Regions from separate parts of the Homo sapiens genome. Here all the other regions are linked to region 2. The links are contacts of gene promoters, found by promoter capture Hi-C in blood cells and fetal thymus (Javierre and others, 2016). All regions are on one chromosome and are shown on one strand. Each heading gives the region's core, a stretch centred on a gene start or on the middle of the fragment in contact. The rest is flanking DNA. Distances are from core to core; before and after follow the strand shown. Region 1 overlaps HIRA (histone cell cycle regulator). Region 2 holds the start of DGCR2 (DiGeorge syndrome critical region gene 2). Region 3 overlaps UFD1 (ubiquitin recognition factor in ER associated degradation 1). Region 4 overlaps CDC45 (cell division cycle 45).

What was found. The method cuts DNA at HindIII sites, captures the fragments that hold promoters and counts their contacts. A CHiCAGO score of 5 or more calls a contact.
Region 1: a fragment that was not itself captured here is called in contact with the fragment with the promoter of DGCR2 in region 2 in 3 of 17 cell types (naive CD8 T cells, neutrophils and activated CD4 T cells); the score reaches 8.3 in naive CD8 T cells.
Region 3: a fragment that was not itself captured here is called in contact with the fragment with the promoter of DGCR2 in region 2 in 1 of 17 cell types (total B cells); the score reaches 5.3 in total B cells.
Region 4: a fragment that was not itself captured here is called in contact with the fragment with the promoter of DGCR2 in region 2 in 1 of 17 cell types (naive B cells); the score reaches 5.0 in naive B cells.

The regions. Positions count from the first base shown.
Region 1 is chr22:19,410,890-19,414,108 of GRCh38, reverse strand. The region is part of intron 1 of HIRA (histone cell cycle regulator); the gene reads left to right. Among named protein-coding and RNA genes, the nearest start is that of HIRA, 19 kb to the left of the region's middle. The HindIII fragment of the contact is 3,879 bases long and covers 1-3,219 here.
Region 2 is chr22:19,120,804-19,124,135 of GRCh38, reverse strand. It overlaps DGCR2 (DiGeorge syndrome critical region gene 2), which reads left to right and starts at 1,724. Exons shown (of 10, transcript NM_005137.3): 1 at 1,724-2,008. The coding sequence starts at 1,930. RefSeq lists silencers at 1,400-1,839, 1,960-2,079 and an enhancer at 1,864-2,365. The HindIII fragment of the contact is 21,190 bases long and covers 1-3,332 here.
Region 3 is chr22:19,469,919-19,473,063 of GRCh38, reverse strand. UFD1 (ubiquitin recognition factor in ER associated degradation 1) reads left to right here. Exons shown (of 12, transcript NM_005659.7): 4 at 1,256-1,377. Among named protein-coding and RNA genes, the nearest start is that of UFD1, 7.7 kb to the left of the region's middle. The HindIII fragment of the contact is 3,344 bases long and covers 66-3,145 here.
Region 4 is chr22:19,503,894-19,507,244 of GRCh38, reverse strand. It overlaps CDC45 (cell division cycle 45), which reads right to left. Exons shown (of 19, transcript NM_003504.5): 10 at 1,764-1,883. Among named protein-coding and RNA genes, the nearest start is that of CLDN5, 19 kb to the left of the region's middle. RefSeq lists enhancers at 373-873, 874-1,374. The HindIII fragment of the contact is 4,984 bases long and covers 1-3,351 here.

The DNA.
Region 1 (3,219 bases), core at 236-2,735, 290 kb before region 2:
TAGAGTCTAGGGTGTGTTAATTTGTCTTTTCTTTCTGTCTCTATTACAAAGAAAGGCCAGACACTGGAGGTAGTTGGGAACTCATCTTTGTCATCATCATGCTGTGCCACAGGAAGAGTTGTCTAACTAGCTCAGCCAGAAGGTCCCTTTCCTTAGCTCCACCTCAGAGAGCCCTTTAGAAGAGGTTCATTCCTGGCCGGGCACGGTGGCCGGGATTACCCCTGTAATCCCAGCACTTTGGGAGGCTGAGGTGGTCGGATCATGAGGTCAGGAGATCGAGACCATCCTGGCTAACATGGTGAAACCCTGTTTCTACTAAAAATACCAAAATTAGCTGGGCGTGGTAGCAGGCACCTGTAGTCCCAGCTATTCAGGAGGCTGAGGCAGGAGAATGGCGTGAACCTGGGAGACGGAGCTTGCAGTGAGTGGAGATCACGCCACTGCACTCTAGCCTGGGCGACAGAGCGAAACTCTGTCTATAAATAAATAAATAAATAAATAAATAAATAAATAGTTTCATTCCCACTAATGGAATGTGAGTGACTGCTTTCCTTGGGATGGAAAGGCCTAGTGCTGTAAGGAGGCGGGGAGCCAGCACTGCGCTGGTATCTGTGTAGGTCCCCTACCATATTTCATCTAATCTGCATAGCACTAGGAAAGGAAACCTGGTGCCAATGAACCAGGCACGCCTTCTCAAAATAATAAAAATAAAATAAAATAAAATCTCAAGGCTTTGTAGCTGGGTAAGTGGCAGGGCTAAAGATTCAGCCCATGATGTTTAATGCCAAAACCCAAACTTGTTGCCAGCCTCCATCCCTGCCTTCCCCTGGAGCCTTGAGGCCCCCACCCCCATTTTCCACACTGCTATTGTGGAGCCAGAATGTGAATCTGACCTTGGCATTACCCTGCCTTGAAAGTACCTTTAGAGAAATGTCTCAGCTCCTTACTGATGCTTGCTGAGCCATCTCTGTCTCCTCTTCTTTCTCACACTCTCTACCTGCAGTCTGCTCTGCAACATTACATCAGCCTATTTCTTGATTCCATGCCGTGCGTCCCCTCAGCCTGAAAACCCTCTCCTTCACCCGATCTTCTGGCTAACTCTTACTCAACCCTTGGGACCCAATTCAGTTATTATTTCTGCAGGAAGCCCGAGGCTGAGTCAGGTGGCTTTCTGCTTGTGAAGTGTCCATCAGTGGACATCTTACTAGGGGAGTTTGTATGATTATGTATCTTTACTTTCTCATTGCTTAGCCTAATGCCTGGCACATAGTAGAAATCTGCAAACAGAGACTGAGTGAGAAAACATGCAGTTGATGCTGTGAGTGGGCATGATCTAAAGCGCATGGGCTGTAATTGGTTACTTGTGCAGCTGAGCCCTCAGCACAGCCTGGCTCAGCCTGTACGTGCTCTTGGGTAGTCAGGGGAACTGTGACTTGCAGGTAAGGGTTTCTGGTGTGCTTCTTGAGGGGACTGATGTAATACAATGTCTCACAGACTTATGGAACTGAAAAGCACTCCAAGGGGAGGGGAATGTTCCGCCCTGATTGCCCGTCAAGACCAAAGCTGTCAGCTAGAACATTTTTTGTTAAAATGACAAATGCCCAGCTCAAGCTGGCTTAAGCAGAAAAGCAAATGAATTGGCATTTTGGTTTATCTCTTATATGACAAACCCCTAAATTTGCTGGCTTAAACCAATAACAGTTTTATTATTTGCTCATAATTCTGCAGCTTGTCAGGACTTAGCAGGTTCAGCTCATCTTGGCTCTATGGAATCTGCTGGGATGGCTCGAATAGCTTGGGGATAGAACACCTCACCAGGCCTGTGTCTGTGACCTTGATTCTCACTTGTCCGGGCTCTTTGATGCTCTACATGTGGCCAGCTTGGGCCTCTTCAAAACATGGTGGTCTCAGGGTACTTGGACTTCTCACATGACAACTAGGTTTCTCCAGAGAGCCAAAGTTGAACTGCTAGACTCTTAAGGCCTACACCTGGAACTGGAGCAACATTACTTCTGTCATTTCCCTTTGGTTAAAACGGGTCCCAGGTGTTTCAGATAAGGGATACTCAACCTATACTACATAGTGACCAGTAAGAAGGAAAGTGTATTTTATCTCAAGTTCATGCTTGATTTGACTACATGGCTGCGGCTCTCCACAGCTGGGTGCTGCCTGGGTCCCATGCTGGGCAGTGCCTTTTGGGCACCAGCATTTAATTTTCACACTTGCATGGGAGCCCTGGCAGGACTTCACAGTTCTCAGACAGCCACTGCCTGCCCACACACTCCTGATCCCAGTACTTGCTGAGTGATTCTAGGGCTGGTGACTCTGGTACTGTGTCCACATTGCCTCCTCTTGGGTGACAGAGACAGAACATGTTCAATTAAGAGACTCTTGGCAACAGCCCATCTATATCAGCAATTGTTGATGCTCAGATCATTGTCATGTATCTCCTTTGTCAATGAACAAATATTACTGCGCTACTGTACACTGGGTACTGTGCTAGAGGCTGAAGATGTGATGAACTCAACAGCAACTGACATGCCACTTGTAGCTCTTAAACCTTTGTCCTAGAAGCAGGGAGCTGGACAAATGCCCACCAGGCGTGAGTGCCTTCTATGGTCTGCTGGGTTTCAAGCTCCTACAGTGCTTTTGCCGGTCTGATCCACCCACCCAGCCAGCCAGCTAGCTTCATGGGATCCTAGTGCAAGCCTAGGCCCATACTGGGCTCTTTGGGGCTTCTAAGAACTAATAGCCACAGTCCTTTCTCCTGGAGGAATTGAACAGCTAATTTAACATAGAGTACAAACTGTGAAGGAGGTTCAGCCAGAGGAGATGCTGAGATGGCAGACGGTATGGGAACTTCACAGCACAAACAAAAGAGGGCTGTTTGGAAGCAGAAGTATGACAAGCGAAGCAATGCTCCTTGGTTGCAGCCAGCGCTGGTCCTGCTCAGCTGTCAGCCAGAAAAGACAAATAGCAGTCCTTCTGTCTAGGCTGCCAGTCAAGTGCAGATCCATGCAATAGGGAGATGTCTGGAGTTACAGCTGTGTGCCCTTTTCACTAAGTACCTGAGACTCAGAACTTCAATCATGAACAGCTCATAGCCATTACAAACACACATCCCTACAAGATGGCAGACAAATGCCCAGGCATCCTATGGGCTCAGCCATTCTCAGTGATGGAATGCTTTCTCCCACTGTTGGACTTTCAGTTGTCTGA
Region 2 (3,332 bases), core at 475-2,974:
TCTGTGGCAGTAAGATACCAGCATGACAGCAGGCCCGGAAGGAAACACATATTTTACTGCAAAACAGGTTTCTTTCACATATTTTGAAGTCGCTCTGCAAAGCTGTTTTTTGTGGGGAAAATCTACATTCTGTAGAGAATCCCTATCCCTTTCAAGGTCTTTTCTCCTGAGAGAATTAACTAGAGTCTGGCACCTTTTATTTATTTTTCCTTTTTTTTTTCCTTTTTTTTTTTTTTTTTTTTGAGACAGAGTCTTACTCTGTTGCCCAGGCTGGAGTGCAGTGGCATGATCTTGGCTCACTGCAACCTCTGCCTCCCCGGTTCAAGCGATTCTCCTGCCATCAGCCTCCTGAGTAGCTGGGATTACAGGCGTGTGCCACCACGCCTGGGTAACTTTTGTATTTTTAGTAGAGATGTGGTTTCACCATGTTGGCCAGGCTGATCTTGAACTCCTGACCTCAGGTGATCCGCCCGCCTTGGCCTCCCAAAGTGCTGGGATGACAGGCGTGAGCCACCACACCCGGCAGAGTCTGGCACTTTTTAATAAGAAACATTAACAGTCTTTTCTCTGTGAAGCCTGATACCTGGAGGCTTCATTTGCCTAAGAAACTTGGTCTCCACAACCCCTTAATGTAGACAGTCCCTTTTATTGATTCCAGGTCTTTAGATAAACTCTTTGAACCAACTGCCAATCCGCATGACCTAGAAGCCCCCCTCCACCCCCCACTTTCAAGTTGTCCCGCCTTTTCCGACTGAACCAATGTATATCTTACATGTGCTGATTGATGTCTTGTCTCCCTAAAATGTATAAAACCAAGCTGTGGCCCTACCCCCTTGGGCACTTGTCAGGATCTCCTGGGGCTGTGTCCCAGGCTATTGGTCACATATTGGCTCAGAAGAAATGTCTTCAAATATTTTACAGAGTTGGACTCTTCGCCGACACTGCCCTCCAAGGTTCACCCTGTTGGTGATGACGGGAGAAGTGGCACTTGGAGCACTGTTCGCAGGGGCGCTGAGCCTCCTCTCTGCCTAGCTTTCTTTCCTGCACATGTGGCCTTCCCCTAGCCATTGTGTAGGCAGGTCCTCCAGGGAGCCGGCTTCGCTGCAGTCTCCAGGACCTGGCCTTCCCGGTCTCTCTTTGCCTGACACTCTCTTAGGCCATTCCTGTTCCTCTTTCCCCACCCTCAGAACCGGCAGGCCCTCCCTCCTCCACAGCGGTTCGGCCTTAAAAAGACCCCTTTGGGGCGCACTTTTGGGCTGCTCACGGGACCTGAGCTTGCAGGTGTGAAGACCCTTGGAGTCCCAGCCAGGTTCCCACTTCGTTCTCTCCGCTCCCCACCCGCGCGACCCCTCGGCGCCCCGCCCCATGCCCCGCGCCTTTCGATGTCCATCCTTGCCGTCCCGCGCCCGCCGTCCCTAACCGGCGTCCAGAGACCCTACTCCCTTCGGTGGCCCCGCCGCTCAGGCCCCGGCCCCGGCCCTGCCTCTCTGCTTAACCAATGGCACGCCTCACTCCGTATGGTCCCGCCCTTCCCTTAGAGCCCGCCCCTCAGTCCCCGCCCTTAGGTCCCCGCCCTCCGCCGTCGCGACCTTAGGCCTCACCCTCTTCGGAGGGCTTTGGCTCTGGCCCCGCCCCCCATCTTGACGGTCATTGGCCCGCGCCTGCGTCGCGGGCGGGAGGCGGGGCGGGGCGGCGCGGCGCGGAGCCGAGCAGGACGGCCGCCATCTTGCGCGCAGCTGGAGTCGGTGCCTGAGGTTGCAGCCGAGAGTGTGCGCCAGCCCGCGGCCCAGCCGAAGCTCTTTCCCGCCGCCTCTCCGCGCCTCGCCCAGGTTCAGCTCCGCCTGACCCTCCGCTTGGCACGGTCCCCTGACCCTCAGTCCGGCCTGGTCCGGCCTTCCAGCCGCCCCGGGGACGATGAACGGAGGATAAATGGTGCCCAAGGCAGACAGCGGCGCCTTCCTGCTGCTCTTCCTGCTCGTGCTCACTGTCACCGAGCCGCTGCGGCCAGGTGCGCCGCGCGATGGGGGCGGTGTGGGGGCTGGGCGGCGAGCGGGGCCGGGGTCGCCCCGGGACCTCCTTTCACCCGCGGCGCCCTCCTGCAGGGGCCGCGCCTGGGGCAGGGGCGGGCGGGGCCTGGCTCGCGGGCCGCCTGGCACTCTCTGCGGACGCCTGCTGGAGCTTACCTGGGCTCGCGGCGCCTCGGACTTCGTGCAGCTCTGCTGTCCAGGATGTTGCCTCTGGGCCCTTCCCGGGAGCGGCGGCGGCCAGGAGCTACGCCACGGGCGCACCCTCTCGCCAGTCCAGCGTCGGAGTCGGGCTGGGGACAGTGGCTCTCAGGGGCACCTGGTTTCACAGACGTCCTCCCAGCAGTGGCCTAGTGCCAGCCTCTCAGTCCTGGAAACTCCTCGCCTGGACAGCGGTGGTTGTGGCTGTCATTCAGTGAGACGTTGCGCTAAGGAAGTCCTCAGGTCCCACCGGGCCTAGAGGAGGCACCAGGAGTCAGCCTAGCGTTGTGTGGCCGGCGCGAGCGTCCCGGGAGCAGAGACCTCGCCACTGTGCGGGGCCCTTAGCCGTGCTGCGTGTATGTGATGAATGAGTCCGTGCTTTGGAACTCCCCTCGGAGCTAGTGTGTTCTTAAGTCTGTGGTGGGGAATCAGAACCGTGGCAACCAGGAGACCCTTTTCTACCTATTTCGGTGTACCTCCCCTTGAACTGCACCAAAAAATCAAACTCCCTAAATGCAGGGCCGATGTATCCATCAGGCACAGGAATCCTGGTATCACTTGCCCACGGTACTTTTAGTAGCCTTCGAATGTTATTTTATTTTTTTTTAAAGTCAGCAGAAAAAAAATGAACTTTTAGGTCAAATAAAATGTTTTCGTATGTATATTAATACAGTCATCTTTATACTAATACAGTGAAAAAGCATGACTCTTAATATTTCTTAATGGAGGAAAGGTCCCATGAAGGCAGAAGTGCCAGGGCCATCTTCTCTGATGACCTGGGTGTGGGAGCACGGGGTGTGTGGCCCTCTCCTGTGCCCTAGCCAGGCTCCCAGCCCAGATACACCGCACCTCTTGGCTCTGCGCTTGTGTCATCTATGTGGAATGTCTGCCTCCTCCCTAGTGCCTGCCTGGTGGCCAAGGCCCTGACCGGTGCTCAACCTGGACAGATTCAGTGATGCTTCTCTGGTCTCCCCATGTAGAGCTAGTTGCTCACTGCTTTTGGCTGCTCTCTGGGCAGCGGGATGACTAGTTGTGGGGTGGCCTTGGTAAGAACAGAAGCCAGGAAAAGGGCTACCTGTGGAGGAGGGTATCATATAGGCTCTTGGA
Region 3 (3,145 bases), core at 488-2,987, 350 kb before region 2:
AGTGCCCACCCTTACTGTACCTCCATGCTACTCTCAGAGGTTCTCTGTAGCTTCCTGCCCAAGCTTTTAACTTGATTTGCTTTATTAGAATTTTTAGGGAGATCTCAAATGGAATCTGCGTTACTTCCTAACACTAAGTGTGATTTTTATTGGAATATTTGTCTGAACTAACAAGCTAAATTCTGCTTTGATGGTTGAATCCCTGGACTTAAGCCAGCAGCCTTGGTTTGAATCCTGGCATCACCACTTGTGTGCTGTGAGGTCTTGTGTGCTCACCACTTGTGTGCTGTTACTTAACCTGTGGGCCTTAGTTTCCCCATAGATAAAAGGGGATAATGATAGTACCTACCTGACTGTTCTGGGAAGACTGAACAAGGGCCTTACACATGGCAAACACCATCACTACCATCAGTTCCTTCTCGGTCTTCTCCCGGGGGCCCAGTGTCTCCTGGGTTTTCCTGCCTCTTTTTGCCAGCCCTTCCTTTATGTGCCTGTGCACCTCTTGGGTCAGCACGTCACCAGTCCAGCTTACTTGCCTCTGGCCTTGCTTTCAGCCCACACCTCAAGGTCCATCAGAGAGAGGGGGCGTCCTATGTCATGACCCTGCTGAGAGCTCACACTGCCCGCTGGGCCCAGGCCCTAGGTTCTACCCCGTGTGGTGCCCCTCCCCTTCCCAACCACTCGCACACCTGTCCCCAGCCTGTCTTGCCTAATTATCCACCATTTCTGAACTGCCTGGGCTCCTCTTCCCTTCCACGCCTTTGCTCAGGCTGCCACCTCTGCCTGGATTTCCTCCCAGGTCTGCCCGCCCAGTGCCCAGCCTAAAGAACTCGGCCTCTAGGAGCCTAGCCCAGTAGCTCTGCCCCCTCCTGCCAGCTCTTCCCACAGCACCTGCAGCATCTGGTTGTGGTTTTCTTTGTTGGAAGGTTTCTACCTTCAAACTAGAAACCTTTGAAGGTCGGGATTTTGTCCAGGGCATGGTGGGCACTGAAATTATTTATGAATAAATGAATGAACACATCACTTTTTAAAATGTTGACTTCAGAAAATCACAAGTCTATGCCAGTGCTGTGTTACCAAGTTGCCAGGTTCCTCCTTGAGCCGTGCACTGTGCTCTCACAGAGGGGGATTCATCTGCCAGAGGAGTGTGGGGTTGAGGGCAGGATTGTGGGGAGGCTCCTTCTATGGGAAGGCGTGGGCCGAACAGGTGTCCCTTCATAGGAGCTGTGCCTCATAGTCTCTCTCTTATTTTCAGGCCGACTTAACATTACCTATCCCATGCTGTTCAAACTGACCAATAAGAATTCGGACCGCATGACGCATTGTGGCGTGCTGGAGTTTGTGGCTGATGAGGGCATCTGCTACCTCCCACACTGGGTGAGTGGGGCTGCCAGGGTCTCTAGAGAGCAGCCACTTAGGCAGAGACATCTCCTGCACTCGAGAGTCCTGGCCCTGGAGCAGGTGGCCCCGCCTACTCCTCCTGCTCAGCGTCTTAGCCTGAGCCGACCCAGCGAGAGAGAAGGGATCCAGAGCAGTGCACTGTGCCTTATGCGGGCTGGTGGGCTCTGGACGCACCTGTGGGCCACTGTGCTGTGGGAGTGGCCTTTTCTTTGATAGTTGCGCAGCTGAACTGTTCATCTGTGATTTCCTGGGTGAGGCGTTTTTAAAAATAATGGAGCAACAGTATTTTTTAGGTGGTCTAGTAAGTAGGGTGTTTGAGGTTTTTATGCTTTTCCCCTACTTTTAGTAGTCTGTCACAGCATACATGTTTTCAGTTACCTCTGACGTAGTCTCCCAAATCTCTCAACTGAGCTGCCATGGGAGTGACGTCTTTTTCCTTACAAGCAGGCTCTCTTTGGAAAGTTGACTTGAAGGATGTCATTGCAGATCTGGGCTGGGATATCCAGGGCGTGTGAGCCACCAGAGCCTGCCCTCAAGGCTGTACCCCTCAGAGAAGTGAGCAGAACTGTGCCAGTGCTGTAGGGAGGAGCCTGCAGCAGTGAGAGTTCCACACAGGTAGCTGTGGCCCACTTGGCTCCTTCTTCTCCTCACTCCTCTCCCCAGCTCTGGCACATTAGGGAAGTTCACAAAGGGACCTGCTTGTCCTTCTCTTTGTGCTTGGATTACATCAGGCATACTGAGAGACCCCGCAGTGAGCTGTGGGCTGGAAACTCTCAGGAGTGCTTGCTTGGCTGCCACCAGGGAGGTGGTCTGAAGCACAGCCCACCTCTCCTGCTGATGCCCTATCATGGTGGCCGCCAGACGTTCAGAAGGGATGGCCTTAACTAATATTTTCTGAGATTAAATATGAATTGAAATTCTGGCCAGGTACGGTGGCTCACGCCTCTAATCCCAGCACTTCGGAAGGCCAAAGTGGGCAGATCACTTGAGGTCAGGAGTTCGAGACTAGCCTGGCCAACATGGTGAAACCCCGTCTCTACTAAAAATACAAAGACTAGCCGGGTGTGGTGGCACGTGCCTGTAGTCCTAGCTACTTGGGAGACCGAGGCAAGAGAATGGCTTAAACCCAGGAGGCTTAGGTTGCAGTGAGCCGAGATCATGCCATTGCATTCCAGCCTGGGCGACAGAGCGAGACTCCATCTCAAAAAAAAAAAACAACAATAATATGAATCAAAATTCTGAAGGTCTCTTTCCTGCTGTAGCAGGTGACCTTGCCCATGCTGCCATGGTAGTGGCATCCTCTTCAGCCTGGGTCCCAGGGTCCTTCCCAAGGTCTGGGCCTGGCCAGTGTCTCCCCGACAAGAGCCCTGCACTCCCATTGCACCTCCTAGTGCCTGGCCTTCCCATGCTGCCTCCTCACCTCAGCTGACTAGGCCTGCCCAACCTGGCCTGTTGGGGGGCTTTTATGCCTCAAAGCCCAGATTGGCTCACCTGCCCTCCCCAGTATTTGCTGCTCAGCCCCTTGCTATTCTTGTGTTTGTCTGCAGGTGCCCCCAAGGGCCTGAGGCCACATTGTGCTCATCCGGTAGAACACCTGGTCACTGAAGCCACTCTAGGTAGCTGAAGTGTCAGGCAGTGACTACTTCCCCAGTCCCTTCTGTGGCTCACCTATAAGAGGAGGTGGTGATGCTGGGGATACACTGTATCTCGAAGGTTCTCCTTTAACCCATAGACTTGAAGTTTG
Region 4 (3,351 bases), core at 402-2,901, 380 kb before region 2:
GAGCCCTTTGACCTTCTTAGCTTAAGCTGACCCATACAGAGAGCCTGTGAAGTGACAGGCATAGACCACCATCCGTCTGACAGGCAGAGAATCTGGAGCACAGGGGTCTGCAAAGTCCAGGTGCTGTGGTCACATGGAGCAGTCATGGCCACACATGACGTAGGAGGCTGGGCGTCACCAGCTTGTCGTCCTGCACCTCCTGCTCCACCTAGCCCAGCCCTCCCTACAACCCATTCCTCCGGAGAGCCCTCCACTGGGACCCCATCCACGAAGCGCCCCCATCCTCAGCCCTTTTTTCGTTTTTTTTTTTTGAGACGGAGTCTCGCTCTGTCGCCCAGGCTGGAGTGCAGTGGCACGATCTCGGCTCGCTGCAAGCTCCACCTTCTGGATTCACGCCATTCTCCTGCCTCAGCCTCCCGAATAGCTGGGACTATAGGCACCCGCCACCATGCCTGGCTGATTTTTTGTATTTTTCGTAGAAACGAGGTTTCACCGTGTTAGCCAGGATGGTCTCGATCTCCTGACCTCATGATCCACTTGCCTTGGCCTCCCAGAGTGCTGGGATTACAGGCGTGAGCCACAGCGCCCGACCTCCTCAGCCCTTTTCTTAAACATATCCATCACTGCCCCTGGCACCGTGAGCGCAGTTGTGAGTGTGGACTGTCCCCCACGGTGGATTTCCCCTCTACAGGACGAGAGCCTGGTCCTGCCTGCTTCCTCGGCATGCTCAGTTCCCACCACTGCCCCTCCCAACTCCTGGGAACTCCCAGGCCTTCAGACCACCATGCTCCCTGCCCACACTCCAGCAGCTTCCTCAAGCCCCAGCATCCTCAGCTCCCTGACTCCCTCCCTCCTGTCTCAGTCACACACTCCCATGGTCCCTGGGTAAGTGAGCCCACCCTGCCACGCACATGATGGGACCAGCTCCAGTGCACAGCGGCTCCCCTCCCCAGGAGTTCAGCCAGCTCCACCCCGCTCCCCAGGCTCCGATGGCCACCTGACTACTGACGTGTCCACCCTCACTCTTCCTCCTTCCCAGCCATCACAGTGCAGAGACAGGGCAGCTCCGTCCCTGACATCATGCTATCTGACTGCTTACAGCCACTGCTGCAGTTTGGGCCAAGCCACTATTGTGTGGCCTTGGAAAGCAGTGACCATCTCCTTGCCCCCAACCTACCTCTACTGGGCAGCCAAGGGACCTTTTAAAAACCCTGACTCAAACTCTGGTCACTCCACAGCCTCCCGCTGCCCTTGGCTCACAAGGCTTGCTCTGGCCTCCTGACACCTGACCCCAGCCAGTCCCCCAGCCCCTCCTGTGCTCAGTACAGCAGCTGCCACACTGAGTGTGGCTGAGACTGTGTGAGATGTGGTCTCCCCATGGTCTTTTCTGAGCACTCCACCAATGTCCCATGTGCTTCTCAAAAGACACGTCACGCTGTGTGATTACATGGCAGCTGCCTTCTTTCCTGACTGCGTGAACCACTGCCCGCACTGCTACCATGTCCAGAGCCAGGCCCACAATAAGCACTTTACAGGGATGTGCTGGAGAAGGGTGATACTTCCAAACTCAGCTCTGGCATTTAGAAGCCAAAGCCACACAGATGAGCTGGGGTAGCACACCACAGCCCCTTCCCCCAAAACTTCCTGCCCCACCTGCTTTCCCTCCTGGGGATGTGGCCAGAACCCACAGAGGGTGACAAAGCAAACAAGGCCTGCTGAGCAGGGGTGCTGCCTGTGCCCCTCAGGCTGGGCCACAAGGATACTCATACTCAAAGGAGATCCGTGTGCAGTCCACGGAGAGTGTGTTCTCCTCATCCTCGTTCCGGTGGTTGTGGCGGGAAACGTGGCGCTGCAGGACACCAACATCAGTCACGTATTTCATTCTGGAAAAAAAAGTAGCACAAGCCTCGGCTGGTTCCCTCCAGCTCTTACCAGGCAGCCTAAGCCTAGGCTCCATTCCCGCTCAAGGCCTTCCTCAGGGGCCTGCTCACCACAGGAGCTGTTCCCATGCAGGGACTAAGGACATGCAGCCTGCATAGAAACCAAGCACCCAGGAAAACATGATTGGATGGAGCGGGGGGGTGTGGTCTCTAGCCTTGTCCACCTCCGGTCCTCATGGGTCTCACACCTCCTGAGAATGGGCACCGCAGAGGCCACAGCCCATACAGCCAAGATGACAGACTCCGTAAGTGACAGGGATCCACAGCAGAGTGGGTGAAATGTTCCCTATAAACTTTACAAAATTAATGAGGGCAGGGGGAGGGGAGAAATGAAAATGAACCCAGCTCGCAGCACATCAGCATCAGTCACTAGGTCGGCGTGCTCTCTGACTGCTTCCTCGTAGCTGCTTGGTGTCTCATTGCCTCAGAAGCATGTAGACCCTGTCACAAGATTGTAGTTCCCCTAACTGCTCCGTAGATCACAACTTGAACCTTAGGAAATGCTGTTTTCCCTTTGAGATATTCCTTTGGGTCCTGTATACTGATGGAGCTACTGACTGAGCTGCTCCGAAGGACCCCACGAGGAGCTGACTAAACCAAGAGTGCAGTTTGTACACCCTGATGATTACATCCCCCTTGCCCCACCAATCAACTCTCCCAATTTTCCAGCCCCTCACCCTCCAGTCCCCTTAAAAGCCCCAGCCCAGGCCGGGCACAGTGGCTCATGCCTGTAATCCCAGCACTTTGGGAGGCCAAGGTGGGCAGATCACCTGAGGGCAGGAATTTGAGACCAGCCTGACCAACATGAAGAAACCCCGTCTCTATTACAAATACAAAATTAGCCGGGCGTGTTGCTGCATACTGGTAATCCCAGCTACTTGGGAGGGTGAGGCAGGAGAATCACTTGAATCTGGGAGGCGGAGGTTGCGATGAGCCGAGACAGCGCCATTGCACTGCAGCCTGGGCAACAAGAGCAAAACTCCATCTCAAAAACAAACAAACAAACAAAACCAAAAAAGCCCAGCCCAGAACTCCTCAAGGAGATGGATTTGAGGATCTCCTCCCATCTTCTCACTCGGTGCCCTGCAATCATGAAACTCTTCCTCTGCTGCAAACTCTGCTGTCTCAGTGTAACAAGTCTGTTACTGCACAGCAGGCATACAAACCTGCTGGTCCTATAACACATTATGGTGAGTCTAGCCTCGAGCCCCTTGTGGGCATTTGCTTGCCTGCGGCTTGGTGCGCCTTCGCTGTTCAGTGGGAAGGACCCAGAGACAAGCCCAAAGCCCAAGCGGCCACTGGGTTCCATTGAACTATATGGGCTGCCACCCGTGCCCTGCCTGTTGACAGGGCAATGTCAACCTTTGGTGCATAGACTGCTCGCAGCAAAGCAAGTTTCTGGTTTTGAAAG